Regions from separate parts of the Homo sapiens genome. Here regions 2 and 3 are each linked to region 1. The links are contacts of gene promoters, found by promoter capture Hi-C in human tissues and cell types (Jung and others, 2019). All regions are on one chromosome and are shown on one strand. Each heading gives the region's core, a stretch centred on a gene start or on the middle of the fragment in contact. The rest is flanking DNA. Distances are from core to core; before and after follow the strand shown.

Region 1 (2,784 bases), core at 133-2,632:
CGCTCCCTCTTCTTCCCCTAATTCTGGCCTGGATCAGGGAAGCCAGGAAAGCACAGCATGGCAGAGCTGCAGGCATCGTCAGGAAAACAGACGCCCAGAGGAGCCAAAATGCACCTAGAAGCCTTTCAACTCCACTCCCTGCGCTCTGTCTGCTACACCGGCTGCCACTCGGGCTTATTTTCAAGGCCAAGTGGATGCTGGTTTAGCTAGTGCCTGGAGAGAGCTGAGCAGCAGGCACGAGTGAGATCGAGACCCCGGCAACCACCTTTGGCTCAGCAATTCTCTGAAGAGGACACGTCAGGCTGAACAATCTAAGGTTTCTAGAAGGCAAGCAGGCATTGAGGAAAGATAGCCCGTGTGTGTGTGATGGGATGGTGGTGGTAGGATTCCAAGAGGTAGTGAAACCGGACAGGCTGGAGCTAGCGCCGCCACTCCCACCTGTACGACTGAAGGCCGGAGCTCTCTGACCTGTAACTCAGGGCTGCCATCCTGCAGCCTCAGCTGGGCGCAATAGAGTATATAGCACCGAGTCTGGTACACAGTAGTTCCTTAACCAAAACGTCAGTTCCGTGAGGGTGAAGAATTTATTTTGTTAATGGCTGTATCCTCAGACCTAAAACCATGTCTGACACATAGTAGGGACCCAACGAATATTTGTTGAAAAAACGAACGAACTACTGGTGTTTGTGTATTGTGGTTTTGTTTTGCTTTTTTTTTTCTTCTTCTTTTTAAGTTTGTCTTCAGGGACAAGACACTGTCGAATCCTCATTTGGAAAGATTATAGCTTTTCTCCAAGTGTTCTCCACGGACACCACCACTATCACCAATGGCTTGTTACAAAATGTAGGTTCCTGGGCCCGTTCCAGAACTGCTCAATCAGAATGGGAGCAATTTGGGACTCTGTAATAGCAAAAGCCCCTTCCCCAGTTCTTACGCACGTGAAAGCTGCAGAACTACAGGATTAGAATTGGAGGGCAGGCAGACACTAGCTGTTTCTCTGCAATCTGAACGTTCCGAACGAGGAAACTGAGGCCCAGAGAGGAGAAAGGGATCTGCCCGCGTCTCCCAGGTGGTCCAGGCTGGAGACAAAAAGTTCGGATCTGGGCCCACCCCGGCCGACCCTCCCAGACCTCCAGCATCTGCCGGGCTAGCCAGCCGGGAACGGGGGCCTTCGGGGTGGGCCGCCGGCTCCCGGGCCGCTTTCAACCTGGGGGACGGAGGCGGTGGGAGCGTCGCCATTGGCCAGGGCGCGGCGGACGCCTCCCCATTGGCCGGGCGGACGCCTCCCCATTGGCCGGGCGGAGCCCTCCGCCCCCGGCCGGGGCGGCCTTGCCATTGGCCCCTCCCTCGCCTATAAGGCGGGGGCCGGCGGGGCCGTGGGAGCGCGCGGGAGCGCACGGCGGGGCGCGGCCGACGCTGGGACGCGGCGCACGGAGGGACGCGGCCGGCGCCCATGGCGTTCGCGCTGCTGCGGCCCGTCGGCGCGCACGTGCTGTACCCGGACGTGCGGCTGCTGAGCGAGGACGAGGAGAACCGCAGCGAGAGCGACGCGTCGGACCAGTCGTTCGGCTGCTGCGAGGGCCCGGAGGCGGCGCGGCGCGGCCCGGGCCCCGGGGGCGGGCGGCGGGCGGGCGGCGGCGGCGGCGCGGGCCCCGTGGTGGTGGTGCGACAGCGGCAGGCGGCCAACGCGCGGGAGCGGGACCGCACTCAGAGCGTGAACACGGCCTTCACGGCGCTGCGCACGCTCATCCCCACCGAGCCGGTGGACCGCAAGCTGTCCAAGATCGAGACCGTGCGCCTGGCGTCCAGCTACATCGCGCACCTGGCCAACGTGCTGCTGCTGGGCGACTCGGCCGACGACGGGCAGCCGTGCTTCCGTGCCGCGGGCAGTGCCAAGGGCGCCGTCCCCGCCGCCGCCGACGGCGGCCGCCAGCCGCGCTCCATCTGCACCTTCTGCCTCAGCAACCAGCGCAAGGGGGTGAGTGTGCTGCGTCCCTCGCTGCGGCCGCCAGGTCGGGGTAGGCGGGGGGCAGCGCCTCTGCGGGAACCGGAGAGGTGCAGGGGTCCCCAACGAGGCCAGGGGGAAGCGACGTGGAATTCGTGCTGGGTGCGGCACCCCAAGCCCAGAACCACTGACTTAATGCCCAGGCCCCCAAACAGAAGGATGCGGGAAAACCCAGAGTTCGGGTCTGATTTAACTGCTCAGTGTGGGATATCCCCTCCAACGAAAGGTGTGCTGGAACTTCCTTCCTGCTGGGAAGACGGCATGAGGACTGAGTAACAAAGACCCATCTTTTATGGAGTCTTCCTCTGTGCCGATGCGCTCCACATCCACTTTTTTGCCTTCACAAGAATCCCTTCAGGCAGGTAGTTTTTCTGCCCATTTTATCCTGATGAGGATCTGAGCATCAGAGATGGGATCACCTGCCCACATTTACTCAGCTGGGAAGCCGGGGCGCTGGCCCTGGGCTTGCCCGGTGTGTGTTGCCCCCACCTTGAAATAATTGTCCCCTGTCCTAAGATCTAACCCAAGAGCAGGAGACTGAGAAGAAAGGAGGCCACAAACCGCCAACCGAGAGCCTGAGGTACCCAGCGGATGAGCAGTAGGAGTGAAGAAGGGGCCCTCTGAGAGTCCCCAGCCCCCAAAAGGACGTGGTGTTGGGAGAGGGCACTCTTGGGTCAGCTGGAGGGAGCTGGTGTGCAGCTCCTGCAATGTGTCCTGGGCAAGAAAGTGGATCAGGCTGGTAGGGGTGGGCGGGGGCTGTGTGGCAGCAGAGGTGGCCT
Region 2 (2,784 bases), core at 96-2,595, 42 kb after region 1:
TTAGAAAGAGTCAAGATTCGGGAATATGGGTATGTCTGCAGTGGAAAACTCAGCTTTTAAATCTTTCTAAATCCCCACATAAAAATTGGCAAAGCAATTAGGTAGCAAAACCAAAACCCCATGGACAAGATTTACAACAAAACTGGGTCACAAGGTGTCCCCACAAATCCCAAAACACAAACAATAGAGACAAGTCTGCTTGCTCTCAGGGTCTGTGTGGGAGAATAACAGTACTGTATTTGTTTTGGGGGGGAATACATGGATTAATAATAAAGTCTCAGTCCCTGTTCTAGGGCCCAGGATTAATGGGAGATAGGTAATTACATAGACATATATCAAATTGCAGGCCAGGCACGCTGGCTCACACCTGTAATCCCAGCGCTTTGGGAGGCCAAGGTGGACCGATCACCTGAGGTTAGGAGTTCAAGACCAGCCTGGCCAACATGGTAAAACCCTGTCTCTACTAAAAATACAAAAATTAGCTGGGCATGGTGGTGCGTGCCTGTAATCCCAGCTACTTGGAAGGCTGAGGCAGGAGAATTGCTTGAACCTGGGAGGCGAAGGTTGCAGTGAGCCAAGATCAGGTCACTGCACTCTAACCTGGGTAACAGAGCGAGACTCCGTCTCAAAAAATAAATAGACAAATGAAATAAAAATTTAAAAAAAAATTGCAACTGTGACAAAAGTAATTCTAAGAGTTCAAGGTTTTGAATGTATATGAAAGACCCATATTTGAAATATTCCATGGTTTAAAAAAAAGGACAAAGGAACAACAACAAAAAAGAGCCTGGTAGACAGACACATGCCAGTATCTCCTTTGCAGGGCCCAACCCAATGGCTGCGGGTGGCATCTGAGGACAGCTGCCCATCTGCATGGGCTCAAGGGGAACTACCCAGCCCCCAGCTCAGGCTTCCATGCCCACCGCCCAGCATCTTCCTTCACCATGAATCATGTGTTTGTAGACGAAAAGGCAGGGTTATCCCAGCCAGGAAGTCCTTGGAGTCATCAGCATGGAGGCAGCCCCTTAAAGCGGAAAAAACAGTCTTCAGAGGCTGCAGACACAGGTTCGAGTCCCAGCCTGGCTGCATACTTCACGTGTGAGCTCATGGATGCCAGAGAGGAGGCACCTACCCGGGCTCACACAGCAGAGCTGCGGACACTTTTGGATTCCCAAGTGGGCTCTTCCAGCTCCTCTGTTTAGGGGGATTTGGAAGTCCTTGGCAATCATTCAAGGCAGATTGAAGATGAAGGCGTGTGTTATGCCATCTGTCCTCCAGGTTCTCAAGCCGCTCAGGCAGCACCAAACCACGGGCAGGACGAGAACGAAGTGCGCTTGTGACTCACCCAGCTTCTGTTCATTGTCAAGAGCAACCTTAGCAGGTAGGTAGCCTTACCCCATTTTAAAGGTGAGGAAATTGAGGCTCAGAGAGGAGAAAAGGGGACCTAAGGTCACACAGCCCTAACGTGTTTCGACCCCGGTCTTTCAGCTGAGCCACCTCAGTCCCCAGGGCAGCTCTGTCTTGGCAAACCCAACCTGACACTGAGCCTGGGGCCCCGCTCAGGGGTGGGGCCGTCTCCCTGTGAACAGGTCTATTTTTAGTGTCAGCAGCAGGGGCTAGGGGCAGAAGCCAGGAGTGACAATGGGGGGAAGGGGGTGGGGCTGCTGGCGGCCGCCCCCGCACCCAGCAGCCGCCCCATTTCCTCGAGAAACCAGGCAGCGCACAATACAAGGAAAGCCGAATGGGGAGCGGCTGGGGGCTCCTGTGGGGGGGGCTGACCTGGCCCATCAGGGCAGCTGGGGGCCTGGAAGAGGCCTCCGGGCGGGGGGAAATGGACGATTAGTCCAGCTGCCTAGCCCAAGCAGAGTGATGGTTCTGCTCTGCACGTGCGCGTACACAGCCACACATTCACCTTAAGGTGAATCACTTGGGGTCAGGAGTTCGAGACCAGCCTGGCCAACACAGCAAAACCCAGTCTCTACACACAGAAGTCTTTTAGTCACTCCTCAACCAGGAAACGATCTCACTTTTAGCCTCAGAGGCAGAGAACTGGGCCCTGGGGACTCAACGAGGTCAGATCCTGCAGAGGCCAAGCAGAAACTGATTTGGCAGGGGCCAGGTGAGAGGCGCTGCCATGAGCACCCCAGACATTCTGCCAAGGTCTTGGCCCCCTGGGGAAGGCTGCCTCTGCTGGGGAAGTTCCTGGCCTGAAGCTTGGGCTTCCAGTTGAGGAGGACTTCATGACAAGAGCAGGAAGGTGGTTCCCCACAGCTTTCTCTGCCCCTCTACAAAGTTGAGGTGGAGCTGTCCAGTTTTGCCTAGGCAGGTGTGCTGCACTAAATTTGATGCCTGAGATTCTCCTGCGTCCTCCTGAGGCTGAGAATAAACAATCGCTTCTCCCTCTGTCCCTCTCAGCACTGCCAGCCCCTGGGGACAGAGTTCTGGGGCAGTCCTGCCTCGCCATCCCATCTCCACACCCTGGTTTATGCTGTGCCCCTGCCAGGGGTACCCTCCCTTACCTTCCCATTCCCGTTCCACAACCAAAGCTCTGAGAACAAAGACAGTGACACGCTTGTCTGCCATCCCACTCCCAGAACCAAGTACAGTACCCGCAGAATGAGATCCCTGCCTCCTCCTGGGGGCCTCTCCTCCACTCTCTCACCATGGATGAAGTTATCCTGTTGGACCTTCTTGACTGCCAAGTGAGACAGACTTTTTCATCTCCAATTTAAGGAAAAGAAAACTGAGACTCAGAGAGAGGATGTGGCCTGATGAAGATTACAC
Region 3 (2,784 bases), core at 91-2,590, 35 kb before region 1:
TAGGCTGGGTGAAGGGTATACAGGAACTCTTTGTACTATCTCTGCAACTTCTCTGTAAATCTAGTATCATTCCAAAATAAAAGTTTATTTAATTTAAAAAAAAAAAGGGGGGGTGTGCAATTCCTTTAGACCAATGGTTCAGGGTCTCAAGCTTGTTTGCTAAATACCAGATTGCTGGGCCCCACCCCCACTTTCTTTTTTTTTTGAGACAGGGTCATGCCCTGTCACCCAGGCTGGAGTGCAGTGGCACGATCATGACTCACTGCAGCCTTGACCTCCCGGGGCTTAAGTGATCCTCCCACGTCAACCTCCTGAGTAGCTGGGACTACAGGTGCGCCCTTCTCATTTTTTTGTAGAGACAGGGTTTTGCTGTGTTCTCTGGGCTGGTCCTAAACTCCTGGGCACAAGCGATTCTCCCGCCTCAGCTTCCCAAAGTGCTGGGATTACAGACATGGCCACTGCCCCCGGCCCCCCAGAGTTTCTGATTGAGGCGAGTTGGGGCAGGGCCTGATAATTTGCTTTTCTAACAAGTTCCCAGATGTTGCTGATGCTGCTGTTCAGGGACCACATGCTAAGAGCTGCTAATAACTGCGTCAGTTATTTTCAAATACGGTGACTTCCCCACTTCCATCCCCAGTGGAATGAGTCTACTCATTCCCCCCAGCTTGTCTACTCATTAACTGTGTGACCTTGGGCGGTTCTGTCCCTTCCCTGGGGACTTCTTCCAGGCTGTCAAATGGATTGTGTACCCCTAAGGTTTGTAGCGAAGGTGAGGTGCCCCTGTCTTCTGTGAGTAAACTCCTCCTGTGCCCGCTGGGCTGGAATGAGAGTGAAGATGGTCGCCCCCTCCTGAAACAACTTTTCCTTCTTGCAGAGAAGACCCAACCAGACAGCGCTAAGGGCCCTGCCAGGCACTGCGAAGGAGGTGCAGAACAGATTCGGAGTAGAGGGGTACTGCTTGATCATTTAAGGAAGAGGAGCTGGGTTTTAAAGGGTGTAACCTGCTGGTAGCCGGAAGTTGCGTTTCCCTCTTACAGCAGCAGGTGGCGCTGCTCTCCGGCCCCCGCGGCAGGGCCGTCCCTCTGGCCTGCAAGAGCTACAGCTGTGGGAAGGGGCTGGATGCACGCGCAGGGCTGAAAGAGGCGGGATAGTTAACCCGGGTTCAGCCGGGATGAGTCTGGAGTTCAGGTTCTATTTATCAGCTCTTGTTCTGTAACCTTGCGCACATGTCTACCCATTCCTGTCTATACTGGGGGTGCTGGGCCAGAGAATCTCAGGCTCAGCAAAGGTGGTACCTCCTCCAAGAAGCTTCTGGGCTCCTACTGGCTGGGCTACCATGACCTACAGTGTCCCTCCCCAAAAAAACCTCTGCCCCCAGGAACTTGGCTCCAGTGAAAGGCAGTATGTGCCTTCACCGCCCTGGAACCCACCCACTTGACCGTGGTAGATTTAAATTTCCTTTTTTTTTTTTTTTTTGTTTTCATTTCACAAGGCTTTTTGTTGTTGTTGTTTTAGTAGAAATGGGGTTTCACCATGTTGGCCAGGCTGACCTTGAACTCTTGGCCTCAGGTGATCTGTCCGCCTCGGCCTCCCGAGGCACTGGGATTACAGGTGTGAGCCACCATGCCCAGCCATTTCACAAGTTTTATATAAGTATATTTACTTTTTAAAATGTGTTTGTTCGTTTGTTTGTGATGGGGTTTTGCTCTGTTACCAAAGCTGGCACGCAATGTTCTGATTATAGCTCACTGCAACCTCAAACTCCTGGGCTCAAGCCATCCTCCTGCCTCAGCCTCCCGAGTAGCTAGGACTACAGGCACCACCACACCCAGCTAATTTTGTTTTTAACGTTTTATAGAGACCAGGTCTTGCTCTGTTGCCTGGGGTGGTTGGTCTCCAACTCCTGGCCTCAAGTGATCCTCCCGCCTTGGCCTCCCAAAGTATGATATTACAGGCATGAGCCACTGCATTCAGCCATATTTACCGTTTAAACATTAAAATATTAAAATGTTAAATAATTAAATATTAGAAATTTAAAGTATTAGAGGCAAGCGGAAGCCCACCACAAAACCTAGTCCTGATTATTCCTTTGCCCTCTTGGGACAGTTACCTTTATGAATTTGGCATAGAGCCTCCCAGACTCTTATCTAATTTAATAGTAATGAATGTGCGTTTAAGTAAAAAATGTTTTCTTTTTTTGCGCTGTTTTGTGGATTGCTTTTCTCCCTTGGCACTGTGCCCCAGCCGTCCATCCCATTCGTGCGTGCCTGTCTCCCAGTCTCCCTCATTCTGGTCTGTGCCCAAATGTCACTTCTTCAGGGGCCTTCCCAACCATAGCGTCTAAAACAGCCCCCTCCCCCATCATTCCGTCCCTTTATCCAGTTTTATTTTCTTCATGGCATTTGTCACACTCTCCCAAATTTTCTTCTGTGTCTGCTTTTTTTGTTTTTTTTTTTAAGACAGGATCTTGCTCTACCACCCAGGCTGGAGTATGCAGTGGCACCATCGTGGCTCACTGCAGCCTCCAACTTCTGGGTTCAAGCAATCCTCCCACTTAGCCTCCTGAGTAGCTGGGATTACAGGTGTGTGTCACCACACCCAGCTAATTTTTTATTTTTCTTTTGTAGAGATGAGGTCTCACAATGTTTATCAGGCTGATTTTCAACTCCCGGCCTCAAGCAGTCCTCCCATATTGGCCTCCCAAAGTGCTGGGATTACAGGTGTGAGCCACCGTGCCTGGCCAAATGTACGTTCTTAAGGCAGGACTCAATCTGTCTTGTTTAT

Evidence for each region. The method cuts DNA at HindIII sites, captures the fragments that hold promoters and counts their contacts. A contact is called where the count stands out against the background at its distance.
Region 2: a fragment that was not itself captured here is called in contact with the fragment with the promoter of TCF15 in region 1 in 1 of the 25 tissues and cell types used here (spleen).
Region 3: a fragment that was not itself captured here is called in contact with the fragment with the promoter of TCF15 in region 1 in 5 of the 25 tissues and cell types used here (IMR-90 fibroblasts, heart left ventricle, heart right ventricle and 2 more).

The regions. Positions count from the first base shown.
Region 1 is chr20:608,907-611,690 of GRCh38, reverse strand. TCF15 (transcription factor 15) reads left to right here and starts at 1,382. Exons shown (of 2, transcript NM_004609.4): 1 at 1,382-1,978. The coding sequence starts at 1,454. RefSeq lists an enhancer at 1-475 and silencers at 1,175-1,284, 1,295-1,464. The HindIII fragment of the contact is 16,586 bases long and covers 1-2,784 here.
Region 2 is chr20:567,322-570,105 of GRCh38, reverse strand. No RefSeq gene overlaps it. Among named protein-coding and RNA genes, the nearest start is that of CSNK2A1, 25 kb to the right of the region's middle. The HindIII fragment of the contact is 6,383 bases long and covers 1-2,784 here.
Region 3 is chr20:643,937-646,720 of GRCh38, reverse strand. It overlaps SRXN1 (sulfiredoxin 1), which reads left to right. Exons shown (of 2, transcript NM_080725.3): 2 at 1-106. Among named protein-coding and RNA genes, the nearest start is that of SRXN1, 7.9 kb to the left of the region's middle. The HindIII fragment of the contact is 4,587 bases long and covers 1-2,784 here.